Regions from separate parts of the Homo sapiens genome. Here region 2 is linked to region 1. Evidence: promoter capture Hi-C in human tissues and cell types (Jung and others, 2019). All regions are on one chromosome and are shown on one strand. The core of a region is centred on a gene start or on the middle of the fragment in contact, and the rest is flanking DNA. Distances in the headings are between cores, read along the strand shown.

What was found. Contacts are between HindIII fragments. The study calls those that stand out against the background at their distance.
Region 2: a fragment that was not itself captured here is called in contact with the fragment with the promoter of LMOD2 in region 1 in 1 of the 25 tissues and cell types used here (psoas muscle).

Annotation. Positions count from the first base shown.
Region 1 is chr7:123,653,999-123,659,571 of GRCh38, reverse strand. It overlaps LMOD2 (leiomodin 2), which reads right to left and starts at 3,706. Exons shown (of 3, transcript NM_207163.3): 1 at 3,336-3,706. The coding sequence starts at 3,608. The HindIII fragment of the contact is 15,658 bases long and covers 1-5,573 here.
Region 2 is chr7:123,686,733-123,692,325 of GRCh38, reverse strand. WASL (WASP like actin nucleation promoting factor) reads left to right here. Exons shown (of 11, transcript NM_003941.4): 10 at 3,176-3,284. Among named protein-coding and RNA genes, the nearest start is that of LMOD2, 34 kb to the right of the region's middle. RefSeq lists an enhancer at 1-234. The HindIII fragment of the contact is 4,150 bases long and covers 449-4,598 here.

The sequences.
Region 1 (5,573 bases), core at 2,457-4,956:
GTCAGGACTACACACAGGAGAAAGGTGATAAACCCTCCCAGTTTGCCTGAGTGTGAAGGGTTTCCCAGGATTTTAGTCATGAAATCTAGATAGTTCCGGACAATCTGAGATGATTAGTCACCCTAGGTGGGGGACATCTGGAGAAAGAACAGAAGGGGAAAAGGTGTCTACAGAGGCAAGGTGAGAGGATGCAAAAAACAGACTTCGCTTACTTTATAAAATACTCTGTCCCTAGGGGGCCTGTTTTATTACAGATTTCCTATATGCCACTGCTTTGGCATTAACCCTGATTCTTTGGAGAATGGAGGTGGGAAGGAGGGTATAGAATAAGGAGGTGGGAGATGAGATGGCAAGGGACTGGACAAGGAGAAGGGGAATGTTAGTAAACTTAGAAAACAAATCAGGTAATGAGAAGAGTGGCCGGTTGTTTCTCCTGATCACCTCCCTATTATGTATGTACATATCACATTCAAAGTATGTGTTAATTGACCGTTTATGTTATTGGTAAGGCTTCTGTCCACAGTAGGCTATTAGTAGTTAAGGTTTGGGGGAGTCAAAAGTTATACATGAATTTTGGATGCTGCAGGGGCAGGAGTTGGTTCACCTGACCCCCATGTTATTCAGGAGGTAACTGTAGTTGAGCGGTTCTTAAGTTTTACTGTGTGTCATAATCACCTGTGAGAGCACCAATTGTTGGGCCCCATCCCCAGAGTTTATCATTCATCAGATTGACGGGAACTCTATAATTTGCAGTTCCAAGAAGATCCCAGGTAATGCTGATGCTGCTGACCGGGCACCCACAATTTTGAAATGTTCTTTAATTTTCACTTCTATGTACAAGCTCTTAACCTCTAATGAGTTTCTTAACCTTGCCTTGTCTCAGTTCTCAAGTGCAGAAAGTTAAAAATGAAGTGAGATAATGGGAGAAACTCATTGGCACCTGTGCTGAGATTTAACCACTGCTCAATAGGGGAGCTAGACCATTGGGATTCTAGGGTCCCTGGGAGCCCCAATGCGGCATAAGTTTGTGTAAGCCCAAGTGGGCAGAAAGGCTGGCATTCAACAGGTGTTGCATCTGCTTTTTATAAGCCTTTACAGAGCCAGCCGCCTGATAATCAATCAAGACCCTCCGCTCCTTCTCAGGGTCCTTCCTTTATGGCTCTTCACTTACGCAACTACCTTGCTCCCCCAGCCACCCAACAGCTGCTCGAAGATTTTCCCTGTTGTGGGAATTGGATTTGCACCCTCCATCAGCAAGTTCCTGCTCATCATGCCTGGCAACTACAGACAGCTGGCCAGCAGGGAAAGTACTGGGAGAAAAAGTTAATAGCCTAGAAAGGAACCGAAGTCCATCAACACAGCAGCCTCTCTAATTGAGCTGATAAGCCATTGGCAGGGATCAGCAAAACCTTTGGCAGGATCAGGTGGGTTCGTCCGGCTGACGATAGGTTTTGCTCTTTGGTTCCCACCACTATCATGTCATTGTGACATTAAAAAGCCTTTGTTGGATTATTGATACATTGGTTGTACAGCCTGGATATTCTGAGACAGTTTTATTCTTTTTTTTTTTTTTTTTTTTTAATGAGACAAGGTTTTGGTTTGTGGCTCAGGCTGAGTGCAGTGGCACAACCATAGCTCACTGCAGCCTCAACCTCCCATGCTGAAGCCAACCTCCCACCTCAGCCTCCTGAGCAGCTGGGACTACCACCTGCTAATGTTCCACTAAACCCAGCTAATTTTTTTTTTTTTTTTTTTTTTTTGTAGAGATGAGATCTCACTATATTGCCAGAGCTGGATTTGAACTCCTAGGCTCAAGTGATTCTCCTGCCTCAGCCTCCCAAAAAAGTGTGGGAATTATAGGCGTGAGCCAGCATACCCAGCCAGTTTTATTTTATTAAAGAGAGTTTTAAATAATTGTGATGATAATGTCATTGTTATTTTGATGCTCATTATCACATCAAAGAAAAAAAAATCCCTCTTAAAACAATGGTTGTGGAGGAATTGACCTGCCCAAGTACTGACTTGTATGTGTCCTTCCTTCTAACACACCCCTTCTAGCTGATTAGTACTGTGGCCTTGGCAGACCCTGGCCAGATCCCAGTGGCCCTTCCTGCAATGATTGACGTGGACAAAACTCACACATATCTTGCTGCAATTGTGGCCAAGATAACCCTATCATCAAGATCATCTAACAGCCCTAGATTAGTACTGTGGAAGTCTTGCCATTGGCTTTAGGCCATTTTGATTTTAGATGATTCCAACAGAGTGCAAGGGTTTTAAACTGTTTCTCCTGACCTATGTTCTTCCATAATTCCGGAAGAATTTTTTTTTTGTTATATGGACACTTTATTGTCATTACTGTTTTCCCAGAGAATAATAGTCTTTTGGACTTCCTTCTGGTATTGACTCATTTGGCAAATTCAAAATAACTGTTTACTGGGCAGTACACAAGAGCTTTATAGGCCTGAGCTCTGATATAAGCACATTTCCTAACCTCAGGATCACCATCGTAAAGGAGACAGAAATCGAAGAGATCATCTATACAGCTGTGCTGCCCCTGAGTCCTCAGATGGGTTTCAGGATGTGTTATCATTTTGAAATTCTATGCAAAAGTTGGTGTATTTTGCACAAGCCCAGGGCTATTTTCTTAAGAAGGTTCATAACTTATCAAAATCTCAAAGGGGTTCTTGATTCGCAAAAGAAACACTGTCTCTAACTCCCTCAATGTCCAGAGGGAAAGAGAACCCTGTAAAAGTGATTGTTCAAGGTCTAAAGATGTGGGAACAGAGCAGGGACTCATAACAAGGCCCTGTGACTCTCAGTGTCATGTACTTCCCACCACCCCACACTTCTTGGTATTGGAAAAGAACTATTTCACCATAGCTACTATCACAGTCAAAGCAACCAGCGTTCCCACTTTTGTCTTTATAGGAGAAAATAAATGTACTTAACTGAAAAAAAAGTATACATTTATACGTATGCATGTATCTTGGGAACAAATATTATGCCACATTACCAACATATAGCTCAAACAACACTTATGTTTGGCAAAATATTGAATCCCATACACTGATTGTGAATTATTTTCCTCTTGAGCTTTCTATTTGTAATCAATCAAAGAGCCCCAATTAAGAATTTTACATATTATGATCCATTGGGTGGCCATAGCATTTACATGATTATTTCAGCCTGAAAAATGATTTAGTAGCAAGTATAAATGGGTTATAGGAAAATTCAAGTGATGAGGATTGAGAAGTTAGGGAAAACAAGTGTCTGGGTTTGGGATGGGGTGATGGGGAGGTGGGGTTAGCCAAGGAAAAGTCCCGAGAGCCTACCTTTCCACATTCCCCCAGCCTCTCCTTCTCCAAGAGTTTTTGGGACTCCTTTTCCCAATAGGCCATCAGTGCCTCTCTGCTGAATGTCCCTGTGGGGGTTTTCTCTGTCAGGCTCTTTTGCCTTAGCCCCACGGGAAGGTTGCGGTCAGGTTCAATGTCTTCCAACTCTCTCTCTAGCTCCTTCAGCTCCTCGGCTGACAGGGAGGCGAGGAGTTCATCCTCGTCGATGGATTCGTATTTACTGAGTCCTCTTCGGTAGCCAAAGGTAGACATGGTCCCTGCTTTGTCAGACCCAGAAGGAGCTTGAAGGACCAGGCATTCAAGGCGGCCAGAAGCAGGCAGGGAGGCAAGTGGCAGGCTGGTCAACAACTGGTGCTAGGAGTGGCTGTGGGAGCCTTTTAAGAGTGGTGATACAGGGCTGTGACAATGCAGAGAGGGGTGAAGGCATGGGCTGTTTTAAGCATCAGACGTCAGCTAGACATTTGAACACAAAGAATGTCACATCGGTGGTGGATGGAGGTCTCAGAACCAGTGGGGATTATTAACATACTGGCCAGGGCCATATTTAGCTGAGTCTGATAGCTCATGAGGACAGGCAGAGTGTTTCAGATAAGGAGTAACACAGTTCTTCTCACTTTGTATTCAAACAACAGGGAAATAAAATTTATTTTGAAAATGACTTGCCACCACCTCCATGGCCATGAAAAGATTCTTTCATTATAATCTTAGGGTTGAGAAATGTCTCCACAATACTCCATGGGTAGTTATTTTGGTTCTTCTATAAACATACTGTAGGTGGTATTGATGGGGACAAAAGGTCATAATAATATAGTATTTCATAATTTTATCCTACTTTGCAGTTTACAAAGCACTTCAATAAGTTTTTCTAATCATAAATACTGTGAGATGAATAACATGATTCTCATTTATAGATGTTGGCAACTGAGGCTCTCAGAGATTAAGTGAAACGTCAGAAGTTGGAGAGCTGAAAGTACAGAGAGGTGTCTTTCTCCACTGAACGAAATGCTTCTTCCTACTCACCATGATTACTAGTAAAAATCTAGACTTGCAAATGAAACTCGAAAAATACAAATAATAATACTGGATATGATTTATTAAGGACTGACATTATGCCATTCCAGTGTTAAGCATTATCTCCTTTAATTCTACAGTCCTGTAAGGTGTACATTAGTGCCTGTACTTAACTAGTACACACTCAGAGAGGTTAAGTTACTAGCATGGGAGCACAGAGCTAAGAAGTGAGAGAGCTAGAATCTGAGCCCAGATTTGTATCTGGCCTGAAAATGGAAGAGATGCTAATTTGAAATTATATATATGACTTAATCACTACATATTATATATATACAACAAATTTTCTTATGTACTCCATACATTTGCACAAATTAAAAAAAGAAATTATATATGAGCATATTGTTGTGTATATGTTAAAATAAATCCATAGTTTATAGGACTCCATAAATATAACACCATTTTATAGATATGTAAAATCTATTAAAAATATTAATGCATACAAAAATACATTTATCAATACATGTATAGTACATGATATTCTGATTATACCTTCAGCAGCTGGTGAATATTTGGGTTGTTTCTAGCTTTGGGTTTCTACCTTTTATCTATGAATAAAGTTTCTATGAACATTTACATGCAAGTGTTTGAGTAACCTCAGGTTTTCATTTATTTTGAGTAGATATGTAGGAGCAGAATTACTGGGTTATATGGTAAATTTACTTTTTAAGAAACTGTAAAAAACTGTTTTCCGAAACGGCTGTACCAATTTACATTCCCATCAGCAATGAATGAGAGTTCCGGTTTCTCGACATCCTCACCTATTATTGCTTGTCTTTCTATTATAGTCATTTTAGAGGGTGTCAAATGATAGTTTTAATTTTCATTTCCCTAGTAAGATGTTCATCATTTCATGTGTTTATTGGCCACCTTATATCTTCTTTGGTGAAATATTTATTCAAATCTTACCTCCCCCTTTTTTAAACAACTTTTTGAGACAGGGTCTTGCTCGGTCACCCAGGCTGGAGTGCAGTGGAGTGATCATAGCTCACTGCAGCCTCAATCTCTTGCTTATGCCCATTTTAAAATTGGGTTAATTGTCTCCTTATTATTGAGTTGTAAGAATCTTTATATGTGCTGGAGACAAATATTTTATTAGGTATATGACTTTTTTTTTCTATTCTGGGGCTTGTCTTTTGATTCATTTTG
Region 2 (5,593 bases), core at 1,274-3,773, 34 kb before region 1:
TCATTTTAGATCCTTTATCATAATGGAATTTTAAAGTAATTTATTGAAAGATATTTTTGAAAAGTGTATTCTTTTTTCCTCTTGCTAATTCATTCTTAACCCTATAAATTTAAAAATACTTTTACATGCAGTGACATGCACAAATTTTTAATTCAGCTTTGATACATCTCTATAGCCATGTAACCCATATCTCTATATCCAAATGTAGGGTATTTCTGTCACCCCAGAAGGTTTTCTCATACCTCTTCCCAGTTAATTTTTCCATAAACAATCACTGATCTAATCACCATAGATTAGTTTTACCTATTCTAGAACTTCATGTGAATGGAATTTTACAGGATGTTTGCAATTCATTGTTCTAGACTTTACTTTCAAATAAAAGGTACTTTAAAGAAAAATCCTTATTAAGCTGTGAGAATTAAAAATAGCCCTACTTGAAACCAATTGTGATCACCTTAGGAAATCTAAACCAGTAGCTTTATGAAAATTAAATCATGTTCCAAAGTTTTCATGTTCTAAAATTTAGATTAGTAGAGAATCAGACCAAAAAAATTGAAAGAGTTGTAATAGAATTTCTGACAGTGATGGCAAATAAATTTAGGATTATCTGATTTGGATGAGGTAATCATTTAATCTTACAGGTCATTTAATCTTCTAGAGTTCAGCAAACATTTTCCTATAAAGGATCAGGTAGTAAAACCTTGGGCTTATATAGGCAGTATGGCCTCTTGTGACCACTCAGCTCTGCTGTTTTACCGCAGAAGCACCACAGACAATACATAAATGAATGGACATGCTTGTGTTCTATAAAACTATATTTGGACACTGAAATTTGAATTTTATATAACTTTCACATATCAAAAATACTCTTATTTTCTTTCAGCCATTTAAAAATGTAAAAATCAAGCTTAATTTTTAGATAGTTTTAAAAAAAAATCCAAGAACAGGCTGGATTTGGCCCATGGGCTCAAGTTTGCTGACTCCTATCCTAGAACCTAACCTGTCTACATTTACATACTTCTTTTGGAGCCTTTTATAACATGTTCTCCAGGACTTCAGGGAGGTCATGGATGATAGAGTTTTTCTGTGAAGTAAATGGAGACGACAGAGGATGTTTTAATTGAAAATTATTTCCCAGTATAGGAATTAAAGTAACTTTCTAGATCTCAGAAACTTTGTCTAAAAGGAGGGTAATAGATAGGAAGCACAACTAATTGAATGAAAACATGTAAACATTAGCATAGATCTAAGAAGACTCTGATCTTTAAAATATATCTAGCTCTTTTCTTTACATGTATTCAGGATGACACTTAAACCTATGAACAGTCATCTCTGTTCTCTTTCCCCCTTTAGATCAGACTAAAGGCCTGTCAAGAGCAGTTGAAGAACTTTAAAGAGTGGTTAGTGGGGAGAATTAATGTCAAAATGACCACAGCCCAGCTTTTACCTTGGAATCTCTGCTAGTTCCTGTGTCATTCTCATTCCCGTAACTCTCACTCCTAACCCACCTTTTTGTTTTCCTTTTCTATTTCCTTTTCACAAACCAACTTTGTTTCTTTCTCTCATTTAGCTATAATAAGGTGATTTAAAATTTTTAACGAATAAAGTTGTATCCTCATTTATTTTAAAAAGTTTAAGAGTTAAATTTCTATTTACTTTCTCCATAACTTTCTCCCATCCCAACTCTCCCTTTCTTTCCAAAAAAAAAAAAAGAAGCAGCAAAACCTGTTAATTGATGTGTAAGAATGGGGGCCATTTTTATCCTAAATAATCACTTTCCTTTTGATTGCATTTATTGCAATCATAGGGTGCATAATCAGTGAACTATTGGCATGTTATACATGTAATCCGAGTTCGTTATTTTTTGAAAAAGACCATTTTGTGGTTGAAATTTCTATGGCTATGTTTCTTTAAATTTTTTGAGTAAATCATCAATTTATTCTGTGATGAATATGATTAACATAAAACCATAGACTTACTTTAAAGAGCTAGTAGGAGGTATTGAATACTCACATATATTTTTGAATTCCATGGTTTTAGTACCTCAAATAGTACTTTGTTCAAGTAAGCACTTCAAAAAATGTGTTTGATGAGAGTATGCTCACTTCTGCTTTGTGCTCTCTGCTTTACATTATCACATTGCTTAAAGGTAGTCTAAATGTCCCTACCGCTGTTGTACCTCCTTGAGAGCCTTGTGCAGAAATACAAAGCTCTGAAACTCTCTGTTATCTTTTTTCATTTGTGGTACTTCTATACTGGAAATAGTTAATACATAATGTTTAAAGCCAAAATACTAAGGAATGAATCTATATCTTAGGGGGAACCACTTTGAATTTTTTTAAAAAAGGTGTTTACTCCAGAAAGAACAAGGAGTATTAGAGGAAGAATTGTACAGATCAAAATGGAAAGTTTGTCTAAATAAAATTGTCTTTGGGAAATGATTAAGAATTTCAAAAATATATATTATATATGTATGTATTAAAACATAGGTAATTATTTAATACAGCTATGCTGTTTCATCTTTAATTATAATTTTTTTTTTCATGAATGCACTTTGGCACAGCTGGAAGTACTTCAGTTAGGGATTGTTACTTGCCTAGTGAGGCAGGTACATTTTGAAAGTTGATCAACTCATCTCCTTAAAAAGAAATTATATACTATGAGAAAAGAGGTTCATTTTGAAGGTATAAATGTAACATAAAGGTGTAAAGCTGAATTTTTGTAGGCAAATATAAGTTTCTACAGTTGTTTTTCAATATCTTCAGTGTGCGTCCCACGTAACAACTCTGGAGTCTAAGTATTAACCTCTGTTTATAACATGAAATCCCTTGATAAAAGCTTTAAAGTTGATCATCTAAGTCTGTGTGTGCTGGAATAAACAGAAGTAACCCAGCAAGTATTATTCAGGAGAGGGTTTGTTATCTGAATGTAAACATAGATTTGGAAATGTATTTTTGGCTTATACATTAAGATGGAAAGGAAATATTTTTGAATAATATCTTTAAGGCAGCAGTTTATTTCTTGTTAATTTGATTAATCTTGTCCTGCGCTTGCCAGTTTGATATCTTTTTTGTCTTTTACAATAAGAAGTGATTCTAAGAAAGTAGGACTTTCTGGAGACAAAGATTCTTGGCTAAAGATTTATTACTGAGTTTTGCTAACTTTCTTTTCCAAGGTGGCTGATGGCCAAGAGTCTACACCACCAACACCTGCACCCACTTCAGGAATTGTGGGTGCATTAATGGAAGTGATGCAGAAAAGGAGCAAAGCCATTCATTCTTCAGGTAGAGAGAGAGAGAGAGAGAGAGAGAGAGAGAGACAGAGAGAGTGTGCGTGTGTGTTTAATAAATTTGAATGTTTGACGTTCTGTTATTTTTATGACTGTCTTTGCTAGCTTTCTCTCTGCTAATTGAGTAACTACTGATGTGGGCTCTAGGATGTATTTTAAAAAGTTGTTGCCTGTGTGACTAGTCTCTCTGAGACTTAACAAATGCAACACCACCACAGCCATAGCCATAAATTGAAAGAACAGCTTTGGGAATATTGACAGTTTTGTTTCCTATATCAGGAAATGCTAATAGACTTCCTAGCAAACAACCTCTAAACAAAGCTTGAGATTTTTAGATCTCATTCCTGTGACATTACTGTGACATGAAAAATTCAGGGCTGGGTGCGGTGACTCACACCTGTAATCCCAGCACTTTGGGAGGCCGAGGCGGGTGGATCACCTGAGGTCGGGAGTTCGAGACCAGCCTGGCCTACATGGAGAAACTCCATCTCTACTAAAAATACAAAAAAGTTAGCCGGCGTGGTGGCGCATGCCTGTAATTCCAGCTACTCGGGAGGCTGAGGCAGGAGAATTGCTTGAACCCAGGAGGCAGAGGTTGTGGTGAGCCAAGATCGCACCATTGCACTCCGACATGGGCAACAAGAGCAAAACTTCGTCTCAAAAATAAAATGAATAAATAATAATAATAATAAATCGGGCCATTTACCTCATCTGTAAGGATTAGGGATAAGAATTTCAGTAATTTTTACTGTTTCTAGAGTTTGCTAAAGAATACTAACTTTTTTTAAACCTTTCTTTTTCATTTTCTAAAAGGTTGATTTGAAGAAACCAGTACCTATTCTGAGGTTATTATTAAACATATACATACCACCATATAAATATTCCTTTAAAGAAAGAACAAGAATATGAGTTTTGCTGATTGGAGTAGTTGAGGTTTGCTAAATAGCTTCTCCAACATGATGTGCTAGAATCAGATCTTTCTTCTTAGATTTATTTAATCTCTGTGAGCCTCAGTTTCTTGTTTGTTACATTCAGAGAACTCACAAAACATATAGATGTGAGAATTAAATAGTATGTCACTAACCTGCAGATTGCCTAGCACATAGTAGGTGCTTAATAAATGTTACCTTCCTTTTGTTTCTCTGTAAGGATGTCCATGTCTTAAGATCCTTGAGCAATGTTTGTTTTCCTTAAATAGGCATATTTGTACCTACCCTCCATTACAGAGATAGAGATAAATATTTATTGTGGAATAATAATAAAATTTTAACAAAAAAAAAGTCCCTGCCTTCATCGACATGCATTAGGTCTAATGAGAGAGAGAGACAAGCAATAAACAAAGAAAACTAGAAAAACATACAGTATGTTAAATGGTGACATGAAGTAAGGACAAAAGTCTAACAGAAAAGGGAAATAGGGGGCAGACTGTTGAGAGAGAGGTTCATTTTGAAATGATAAAGGATGATAAGGGACAATAAAGCCTAACTGAGGTGACATTTGAGAAAAGACCAGCAGTTCAGGAAGTGAACCATGTAGAAAACTAGGGAAAGTGTATCCGATGGAAAGAACAGAAAATATAAAGTCTGTGAGGTTGAGAAACAATGAGGAGATCACGGAGCTTGCAAGGGAGGGAGGGAAAGAATAGTAAGGAATGAAATACAAGAAGTAGTAGGAGGCCAGTGGTAAGGCTTTGGAGACCCCTGAAAGTGCACTAGCTTTTATTCTGCATATGATGGGAAGCCATTGGAGGGTTTTTAGCAGAGGTGTAGTAATGATCCAAGCAAGAGGTGATGGAGGCTTGAACCAGGTTTATAGCACCAATGAGAAGTGGTTAAATATTAATTATATTTTGAATGTGGAGATCACTGGTTTTGATGATGGTTTGAAAGTGAAGGTTGAAGAAAAAGAAGAGTGCAAAATGACTCCAAGGTTTTTGACTTGAACAACTGGAAAGGGGAAAGACTTACGAAGAAAAAGTTTGAGAGGGAAGATTAGGAGTTTGATTTTACATATTAAATTTGAGATACCTATTAATTCAACTATAGATGTGGAGTAGGCATTTCGTTATGAGTCTGGAAGTCACAGGAGAGGTCTGAATTGTTAAATTGCATGTCAGTAGGATATACATAGACACCTGGTATTTAAAGTTATGGTTATGTTTATGGTATAGTCTTCTTTAGCATAAAAACAGTGAAAATTACCTAAATTCTTAGCCCTAATCCTCACAGATGAGGTAAACTGCCTGAATTTTTTATGTCATAGTAATGTCATAGGAATGAGATCTAAAAATCTCAAGCTTTGTTT